Regions from separate parts of the Homo sapiens genome. Here regions 2 and 3 are each linked to region 1. Evidence: promoter capture Hi-C in human tissues and cell types (Jung and others, 2019). All regions are on one chromosome and are shown on one strand. Each heading gives the region's core, a stretch centred on a gene start or on the middle of the fragment in contact. The rest is flanking DNA. Distances are from core to core; before and after follow the strand shown.

What was found. The method cuts DNA at HindIII sites, captures the fragments that hold promoters and counts their contacts. A contact is called where the count stands out against the background at its distance.
Region 2: a fragment that was not itself captured here is called in contact with the fragment with the promoter of DOCK3 in region 1 in 3 of the 25 tissues and cell types used here (H1 embryonic stem cells, dorsolateral prefrontal cortex and mesendoderm cells).
Region 3: a contact is called between a fragment that was not itself captured here and the fragment with the promoter of DOCK3 in region 1, in 1 of the 25 tissues and cell types used here (dorsolateral prefrontal cortex).

What each region holds. Positions count from the first base shown.
Region 1 is chr3:50,673,092-50,676,595 of GRCh38, reverse strand. It overlaps DOCK3 (dedicator of cytokinesis 3), which reads right to left and starts at 1,669. Exons shown (of 53, transcript NM_004947.5): 1 at 1,296-1,669. The coding sequence starts at 1,332. It overlaps MIR4787 (microRNA 4787), which reads right to left and starts at 1,516; the gene lies at 1,433-1,516. RefSeq lists a silencer at 1,416-1,705. The HindIII fragment of the contact is 18,901 bases long and covers 1-3,504 here.
Region 2 is chr3:50,908,071-50,911,574 of GRCh38, reverse strand. The region is part of intron 4 of DOCK3 (dedicator of cytokinesis 3); the gene reads right to left. Among named protein-coding and RNA genes, the nearest start is that of MIR4787, 230 kb to the right of the region's middle. The HindIII fragment of the contact is 3,969 bases long and covers 1-3,504 here.
Region 3 is chr3:50,891,764-50,895,267 of GRCh38, reverse strand. All of the region lies in intron 4 of DOCK3 (dedicator of cytokinesis 3), which reads right to left. Among named protein-coding and RNA genes, the nearest start is that of MIR4787, 220 kb to the right of the region's middle. The HindIII fragment of the contact is 4,411 bases long and covers 1-3,504 here.

The DNA of each region.
Region 1 (3,504 bases), core at 420-2,919:
GAGAAGATAAACCACCAACTCCTCACTTCACAGAATCAACTCAGTATTCAGGGAATACTCTAAGAGAAGGGGTAAAATGTCCCTAGAGGTGAATCCCAGCTCTTCGCATCATTTCTCAATTCCTTCTCAATAGAGACTCTAGGACCAGAGCTCCCTTTATCACCTCCATCCTAACATACCTAATTGTTTCAGAAAGTTACCTTTTAAAACAAGATCTTCTACCAGAATAGAAGACCTCTCTGCTGGTCCTCGAATTTAAATAAATTCAATTTTCACACGATAACCTGCCTGATAGCATTCCAAAACATTCGTTACCACTGCAGTTTCAAGTTATTTTGTAGTGAATTGTGAACTAAATCTTGATTAAATTGCGGTAAAGATGGGAAACAAAAATCTATGTTTAGACAGGTTTCCTATCTAAAATTTTCCATTACGAGCTTAGGAAAAACAAAACCTGTACACTCAACATTTTAAATCTGTTTCTAACTGAACAAGATGATAGGTGATGCAATGAGGCTTAACTCTATCATGTAATTGCCACAAAACACTAACATTGTAAAACATTCAATACTTTAAATTACTGAATATTCTTTTTAAAGAAGTTGAATATTGTAAGAATTATTTAGCTTCTGGAGTTTAACACTTACAACATTAAAAAAAGGTTTCTAAGAGGAATAAGGTCTCATCTGAAAACAGGGTTTAAAAAAAAAACCGTATAAACATTGATACATGTCCAAAAACATTTCCCATCGTAAGGTATTATTTCTAATACTAAAGGCAAAACAAATTAAAACAGATCAAACATTTGCAGTCAAATGTCCAAATTTTTGAACTGGGAAAATGATGTCAACGTTTTTCATCCGTTTTCTTGTAAGGTTCCAGATCAAAAATAAACAGCCATCGGGCTCATCAATTCAGGTGCGGAAACTCATTAAAATCGAGCTTTTGGAGGGGAGAAAACATATTCCCAGAATTTGGTTTATCGGGTAAAATTGCCCCGTGGCCCACACCAGAAACCTCGGGCAACTGCCCGGGCCTTGCCCACCCCTCCCGCGGGCCGCACCTGCCAAGGCCGCACCGCCAGCGCCCCCTGCCGCCCTCTCTGCACAGAGACCCGCGCCCACCCCCGCACCCGCACCCGCACCCGCACCTGCCCCCACCCCGCGCTCGCCCCGCGCCGAGGCCGCGCAGCCTGCGGGCAGTGGCGGGGGCACGAGGATGCGAATCCAGGCGGGGCCGGGAGCTGGGCGCGTCCCCCAGAACCCCCGCCACGGCCAGGCCTGAGCCTCACCTACCTACGCCGTATTTCTCCTCCTCCGTGGGGGTCCACATGGCCGTGCCGGGCGCGGCCCCGCGGGCGCGGCGACCGGGCGACAACGCGGCGGGGACGGCCGCGGGCCCGGCTGTGGCGCACCGCGAGTCGAGGCGGGGACGGTCAGGCGGCGCGGGGCAGTGGGCGGCGCATCCCTCACAGGCCGTCCGGGATGCCGCCGCCACCCCCGCCACGTCTGGACCGCGAGGCTCCGCGGGTGGCCCAGCAGCCCCTGGCGGCGCGGGCGAAGGCTCGCCACCTGTCCGTCGCCGCTGCTCCCGTGCCGCCGCTTGCTTCTTCACAGCTCCGCCGCCCGGCTCCCGGCGCCGCCGCGGCTCGGCTCGCCCCAGCGGGCTCGCAGGACGCCCGCGCATGCGCCACTCCCTGCCGCGCAGGGGCTCGCGCTGCCCGGGCTCGCGCCGTCCCGAGCCCGCGCGCGAATCCACGCGCCGCTGCTGCGCGCCAGCGGAGGGAAATCCGCGAGAAGCTATTGGACTGCCCGGCCCCGGACCGGCTTCTAGAATCGCTGGTCCGGGGCCCTCAGCTGCAGCAAACCCCGGAGGGGGCGAAGCCGGTCAGGTGGGCGACTCCCTCTACCCGGACTCCCCACTCGCTTCCGCTTCCAGTGCCTCCTGCCTGCGCCCCGAGATGGCCACAGGCCTCCTGGTCGGAGAGGGGAGATCCAGAAAAGGAGGACACGACACCATTTTCAGACCCATCCCAGTGTCACCCACAGTGCTGTCGGAAAGGTCCCCGGAGCCACCCTGTGCATTCCCAGGGCCCGCAGGATGGAGTCGCCACGAGGGAACCAGGTGGGGTGCACTCGTGCCCCTCTCTCCTGGATCCCCTGTGGGCTGAGGCCGCTGACACCTCCTGGGTTCTTGCTTCTCTGAGATGGCCTGAGTGGTGAATGTTTGGGGCCAGAACAATCAACAGCCGCCTTGCTAGTAAGGAAGAGCTTCATTGGGCCCTTCGTGTTCCTACCCAGGACACGGCATCTGCTGCTCCTGGGTGTCTGCCTCCCTTGGAGCCCTAAGAACTGGCTCCTACCGGAAACTTTCCTCCTCTCTCTCCTCCCTAAGAATCCATTCATTCTGATGCCTGTAAATGTCACCTTGTGACCCCCAAGTCAACCACTTACCAAAGAACAGGAACTGCAGGACTTCTCCTTTCCACCTACATTTGGACCACATGCTCTAATCCCAGCAGATTTGCCCATCTCTGTCACTAGCACTACTAAGTCAAAACCCTGGTGTCATCCTTCACTAGCACTCTCAGACACCACCACTCTTCAAAGCCCAGCTCAGCCCCTCACCTCCAGGAAGCCTGCCCTGACCCATAGTCTCCTTTCCTTCTTTGTCTGGAATTGGAGCTATGTTCGGTTTGTCTTATTTCCCTTATAAGACTGTCAGCTCCCAGAAGGCAAGCTCCAGGCTAAAATCAACTTTCTAAACCCTCACCACCAACCCAGCACCTGTTGTATAGTTGTTGCATGGGAAGCCAGACTAATAGAAGAATATCTTGCAATCAACAGATCTTGTTGATTCTTCGTTCAAAGTGTCATGATTGGTAACTCCTCCCAGGCCTGACTGTGCTCCCCTGGGTTATGGCCACCCCTTCCCACCTTCGGACCTTTAGGCTCCTCCTCTCACTAATCATAGCTGCCCACTCCCGCCCAGAAAAATGTCTGTTCTGTGAATGATAGAATTTCTCAATAGCCAGGTACACTTCTTTTTAGGGGTAGCAGGGGTGTCCAAGAACATAACGAAAGAGCTAACTGTTCCAAGAAGATAGACCCCTCCCCGGTGGCCACCATGGAAGTATTCTATGGAATGAAGCCACATTCTTACAAAACTCTCCAGGTAGCTATTCAACAAGTGGGGCTGAGCTACGCAGGCCTTCAGGGAACAACCTTAAAGCTCTTATTTCATCCTCTAAGTTCACTCCCTTGTCTGCTGTATGTGATGACAGTCACAGAGCCTAAGGGCCAGTTTTTCCAAAGTTTATACTCTTGTTCCCAGTCTGAATCCATCTTAGATTATGGCTTTCCCAGATGAAGAAAATTCTCCATGATTGCACACCTCAGCTCCAGGGTGGAAGGGCATTAAACCCAACCAGGGAAGGGAAAAGAAGGGACCAAAGTGAGAAGGAAGGGACTTAGTAAGCCTGGACTCCTACACTCTTGCTGTTTG
Region 2 (3,504 bases), core at 538-3,037, 230 kb before region 1:
CAAAATATACTAAAAGCCACAGTAACCAAAACAACATGGTACTGGCATCAAAAACAGATACATAGAGCAATGAAACAGAATAGAGAACAAAAATAAATCCACACATATGAAGTCAACTCATTTTTGTCAAATGTGGCAAAAACATACATTGGAGAAAGGACAGTATATTCAATCAATGGTGCTAGGAATACTAACTATCCATGTGTAGAACAATGAAACTAAACCCCATTTCTCACCACATACAAAAGTCAATTTGAAATGGATTAAAGACTTAAATGTAAGACTTGAAACTATGATACCACTAGAAGAAAACATAGGGAAAATTCTCAGCACATTTGTCTGGGCAAAGATTTTTGGAGCGAGACCTCAAAGGAAAAATAACAAAAGCAAAAACAGACAAATGGGATGATAACAAGCTAAAAAGCTTCTGCACGGATAAAGAGGCAATCAAGAAAGTGAAAAGACAACCTATAGAAAGGGGGAAATATTTGCGAACTATTCATGTGACAAAGGATTAATAACCACCATATATAATGAACTCAATTCCACAGCAAAAAGACAATCCAAAAAAAAAACAGACAAATGAGGGAAGGCATAGCAAGATGGCCAAATAGAACCCTCCAGCAATCATCCTCTGCAGGAACACCAAATTGAACAACCATCCATGCAAGAAAGCACCTTCTTAAGAACTAAAAATTAGAGGTGAGTGGACAGAGCACCTGGTTTTAACATGATATCAAGGAAAGAAGCATTGAAGAGATAAGAAAGACTGACTCACATTGCCTACACCACCAATCCCCATCCACCATCAGCACATGGAGAGACAATCTGTGTACTTGGGGGAGGGAGAACAAAGTGACTGTGGGGCTTTGCATTGGAACTCAGTGATTCCTTATCACAGCAGAACATAACACAAGGCAGAATTTGGCCAATGCCCATGGAGTGGGCTCTTAGAGCACCTTCAGCCAGAGGGTAATCTTACACCCCAGCAGTAGGCACCTGAGTGGTGGCTAGCCCCACCACCAGTTCACTAAAGTGCCCCTGGGTTCTGAACAAATTTGAAATGCAGTCTAGGCCAAAAGGACTGCAGTCATTGGACAAGTCCTGGGGCTGTGCTGGGCTAAGAGCTGCTGGACTTGGGGTGCACATGACCCAGTGACACATGAGATGGGGCAGCCAAAGGAATGATTGTGTCACCAGTGGAAAAGATCTCTCCCTGAGCTGCACTGCCTAGAGTGTAAGGAGGGGTGATGCTGGAAACTCAAAAAGCCAGAGTGCCTTTTCTTCTCCAAATGACTGCAATACCTCTCCAGCAAGAGCACAGAACTGGTCTGAGGCTGAGATGGCTGAAATGACAGGAGCAGGCTTCAGGAGGTGGGTAATAATGAACTTCACTGAGATAAAGGAGCATGTCCTAACCCAATGCAAAGAAGCTAACAATCATGAAAAAACAATATAAGAGCTGATAATGAGAATAGCCATTTTAGAAAGGAGCATAACTGACCTGATGAAGCTAAAAGTAAAACACAGGAAATTCACAATGCAATCACAAGTACCAATAGCAGAACAGACCAAGCAGAGAAAAGAATATCAAAGCTTGAAGACGATCTTTCTGAAATAATACAGGCAGACAAGAATAGAGAAGAAAGAATGAAAAGGAATGAACAAAACCGCTGAGATATATGGGATTACATAAAAAGACCAAACCTACAACTGATTGAGTTACCTGAAAGAGATGGAGAGAACAGAACTAGGTTGGAAAACATACTTCAGGATATCATCCAGGAGATCTTCCCCAACCAAGCAAGACAGGCCAACATTCAAATTCAAGAAATCCAGAGAACCTCAGTAAGATACTCCACAAGAAGATCAACCCCAAGACACATAATCATCAGATTCTCCAAGGTCAAAATGAAAAAAAAAAAAAAAAAAACGTTAAGGGTAGCCAGAGAAAAAAGACAGGTCATCTACAAAGGAAAGCCCACCAGAATAACAGCAGACCCCTCAGTGGAAACCCTACAAGCCAGAAGAGATTGGAAGCCAATATTCAACATTCTTAAAAAAATTTCCAACCCAGAATTTCACATCTGGCCAAACTAAGCTTCATAAGCGAAGAAGAGATAAGATCCTTTTCAAAGAAGCAAATGCTGAGGGAATTCATCAACACGCCTGCCTTGCAAGAGCTCCTGAAGGAAGCACTCCATATGGAAAGGAAAGACCATTACTAGCCACTACAAAAACGCACTGAAGTACACAGAAGAACAGTGACACTATGAACAACCACATGAACAAGCCTGCAAAATAACCAGCTAACACCATGATGACACGATCAAATTCACACATAACAGTATTAAACTTAAATGTTAATGGGCTAAATGCCCCAATTAAAAGACACAGAATGGCAAGATGGATAAAAAGTTAAGACCATTGGTATGCCGTCTTCAGGAGACCCATCTCACGTGCAAAGACATACATAGGCTCAAAATAAAGAGATGGAGGAAAATTTACCAAGCAAATGGAAAACAAAAAAAAAGCAGGGATCACAATCCTACTTTCTGACAAAACAGACTTTACATTATCAAATATCAAAAAAGACAAAGAAGGGCATTACATAATGATAAAAGGTTCAATTCAATAGAAAGAGCTAAATAACCTAAATACATATGCACCCAATAGAGCAGCACCCAGATTCATAAAGCAAGCTCTTAGAGACCTACAAAGAGACTTAGACTCCCACAAAATAATAGTGGGAGACTTTAAAACCTCACTGACAATATTAGATCATCGAGACAGAAAATTAACAAAGATATTAAGGACCTGAACTAAGGTCTGGATCAAGCGAACCTGATCGATATCTACAGAACTCTCCAACCAATACCAACAGGATATACATTCTTCTGATTGCCACATGGCACTTACTCTAAAATAGATCACATAATCAGAAGTAAAACACACCTCAGCAAATGCAAAAGAACTAAAATCAAGACAGTCTCTCAGATGACAGCACAATCAAATTAGAACTCAATGTTAAGACACTCACTCCAACCCTCACAACTACAAGGAAACTGAACAACCTGTTCCTGAATTGACTACTGGGTGAATAATTGAGGCAGAAATCAAGAAGTTCTTTGAAAATAATGAGAACAAAGAGACAATGTAACAGAATCTCTGGGATGCTGCTAAAGCAGGGTTAAGACACAAGTTTATAACACTAAATGTCCACATCAAAAAGCCAGAAAGATCTCAAATGAGCAGCCTAACATCACAACTAAAAGAACTGTAGAATCAAGAGCAAAGAAACCACAAAGCTAGTAGAAAGCAAGAAATAACCAGGATCAGAGCAGACGTGAAATAAATTGAGATGAAAAAAAAAAAAAGCCCTTCAAAAAAAAAAAAAATCAATGAATCTGGAAGATGGTTTTTTGAAAAAATTAATAAAATAGACCGCTAGCTACACACATAATAAAAATGAGAATCAAATAGACACAATTATTAATGATAACA
Region 3 (3,504 bases), core at 560-3,059, 220 kb before region 1:
AGTTAAAATTAAAGTTGAAGGAAAAAAAGAGTTTTTCAAGTTCTAAAAAAAAAAAAAAAAAAAGCGGGGATAAAATAAGGTAACTAAGCATTTCATATGGATGCTGAAATAAAAACTAAGATTACTCTTTTATGTGATTCATTTCTGATGTTTTTTGTTTGAGGCTTTTATCCCAATTGATAAAGAAAAAAAGCCATTAAAATGTCCTTTAATTGAAGAAGAAGTGGTAGAAATTACACCTTTAACATTACTGGAGCAATACTTTGAAAGTAAATCACTTAGCAGTCAGAATAACAATTTGGAATTGTAACCAAATAGTCAAATACAGCTGGGAGACCTAGAATTCAACAGAACATTGTTTTAACGCTCAAGAACTGTGTGACCTAACAGATGGGAAGAATATATAAGAATAAAGCTTAATTAACCAACTATGTAAACAGAACCAATCACTATTCATAGTTCCCTTAAAATTAAGATTTGCTAAACTTAAAAGATTTGCATGCTGTAAAAAAAAATCAAAAACAAAAACCTGACAATTTTAATTCCCTCAACAAATGTTTTATTGTTGATGACACAATTTACATATTTTATATTGTGCATCTACTAACAAGTTTTTGTAGTTATAGTTATTCTTAATACTTGTCTTTTAACTCTTATACTAAAATTATTTATATACTATCTTTACAGTATTCAAATATTCTGTATATGTGTATATATTTGCCTTTGCCTGTGAATTGTATACTTTTGTATGCTTTCATGTTGCTGTATAGCATCATTTTGTTTCAACTTAAAGAACTCCTTTCAGCATTTTTTATAAGGCAAATCTACTGGTGATGAACTCCCTCAGCTTTTGTTTATCTGGGAAAGCCTTTCTCTCTACTTCATTTCTGAAGGACAGTTTTGCTGGGTACTGGTTGACAGGGTTTTTTTTGTTTCCTTCAGTATTTTAAATATATCATCCTGCTCCCTTCTGGCCTACAAGGTTTTGGCGGAGAAATCTGCTGATAGCAGATTTATGGAGGCTCTCTTATATAAGACAAGTCCTTTTCATCTTGCTGCTTTCAAAATTCTCTTTGACTTTTGACAATTTGACCACAATGCATCTCAGCATGGATTTCTTTGGATTCCTGTTTTTTTAATTATACTTTAAGTTCTAGGGTACATGTGCACAACGTGCCGGTTTGTTACATAGGTATACAAGTGCCATGTTGGTGTGCTGCACCCATTAACTCGTCATTTACATTAGGTATATCTCCTAATGCTATCCCTCCCCCCTCCCCCCTCCCCTCACCTAACGACAGGCCCCGGTGTGTGATGTTCCCCTTCCTGTGTCCCAATGTTCTCATTATTCAGTTCCCACCTATGAATGAGAACACACGGTGTTTGGTTTTTTGTCCTTGTGATACTGTGCTGAGAATGATGGCTTCCAGCTTCATCCATGTCCCTACAAAGGACATGAACATCTTAAAGGGGTTGTTTGGACTTCAAGGATCAATGTTCATTTCCCTCCCCAGATTTGGGAAGTTTTCAGCCATTGTTTCTTTAAATAAGTTTCCTGCTCCTTTCTTTTCCTTGCTCTCCCTCTTCCTCTCTCTCCTGCCCCACGTGTGATAATTCCATATTGAGCATATTGGTTTGCTTGATGGTGTCCCATTAGTTTCTTAGGATTTCTTCCCTCTTTTTCCTTTCTGATTCTCTGAATGGATCATTTCAAATGACCTATCTTCAAGTTGACTCGCTCCTCTATTTGATCAAGAATGCTGTTGAAGTTCTCCATACAATTTTCATATTACTTATTGTATTCTTCAGCTCCAGAATTTATGTTTGATTCTTTGCTTTCTTATGGTTTCTATCTCTTTGTTGGTATTCTCATTATTTTCACTTTTCATTTTCCTCATTTAATTTAGTTGCCTGTATTCTCTTGTAACTCATTTAGTTAAGTAATCTTTAAGACTATTATTTTGAGTTGTCTTGAGGGCAATTCATAGAACTCCTTTTCTTTAGGGTCTGTTATTGAATATTTATTTTGTTCCTTTGATTGTGTCATGTATTCCCGATCCTTCATCTTCCTTGCAGCTTTGCTTTGGGGCCTGCACATTTGAAGAAACAACCACTTCTCCCGGTCTTTATGGACTGACTTCAATAGACAAAGACCCTCACCAATCAGCCCAACTCAGATTCTGGGAACCTGTCAAACCTTTTCTATGAATGTACGCACTTCATTCCTCCATCCAGCCTGAGAGTCTCAGGGTTCTGTGCCTTCTCCCAATCTCTCAAAGAAATGATGGCCACAGTAAGCTGCCCATCTCTTTTCCCTGTGGCAGTACTCTAAAATTCCAGGATGTATGCTTCATTCTTCCTTTCCCTTCTGAGGGAGAAGACTCACAGATATGCATCTTCTCCCAACCCTCCAGAGCTCTACTGGCCACAGTTGCCTGCCCTCCACTTTTTTCTAGAGTGATGCATTGAAATGATGGGATATTGCTCCCACTCCTCACCCTCCCTCCTGCAGAAATCTTAGGGTTGTGCACTTTTCCCGATCTTGCAGAGGCAAGCTAGCTGCAGTGAGCCTCTCACTCCTTTTCTTTGTTCTTAGCTTCCCCTGCATGTTTAAATTATGCTGGCTACTCCAGCACTCTGGGTGAGGTGGGATAGAAAGAGGTCATTCAAGCAGCACCCACAAATGCTAGAGATGTTTGATGTACAGTCCTCTTTTTCTTTGCCCCACTGGAAGAGTCACAATCTGGGACAAATTCTCTCTTAACCAGCTGGGAGAAGGGACTGACAAAGGTAAGAGTGAAATTGCTCTTCTTAGCCATTTCAACGTGTCTACTCTGTTTTGTGCTCCTCTGGAGTACTGCGACTTCTTCACTGGATACTGGACCTCTTATAAAGGTATTTTTCTTGGTATACCATTGTTAAATCTGTGTTTCTGTAGGGGGATGAGAGCTGAAACTTCTTATTCTGCCAAATTGCTGATGTCATGAAAGACTACTATTTTCTGGTTGGGCTCTATTCCACTACAACACAGTAAATGAAAAATTATCTGGAGAAAAAGGCCAAAGTAAACATGAAGCTCTCCTTGTGTGCATCCCTTCCTTCAAAGATCATAGCCTCTCAAGATCTTGCCCAACCAATTGTTCTCCAGTGCCTGCAGACAATTGTTTTTTAATATTTTCTCCAGATTTTAGAATTCTTATTGTGGACCATCAACTTATTGGACATTTGGATATGGAGGTCAATTCCAAATAGCTTTCTAAGATTTATATCCCACTTCCAGCAAATATGGCTGCTCTGTGTGTAATTTTATGTACAGCCACATCACTTCTACTTTCCTGAGGCAAACTGAATCCAGGTAGGGATTCTTCTGCTAGCAAAGTGCTCCCCAATGTCCTTTATAACTATTATAAATGGGACATATGACTCATAAACTTAGGATAAGTTCCTCATCATCAGAAAGTGTATGACTTTGCTAGTATTTTCTAAGGCACTCTATTTCTGCAT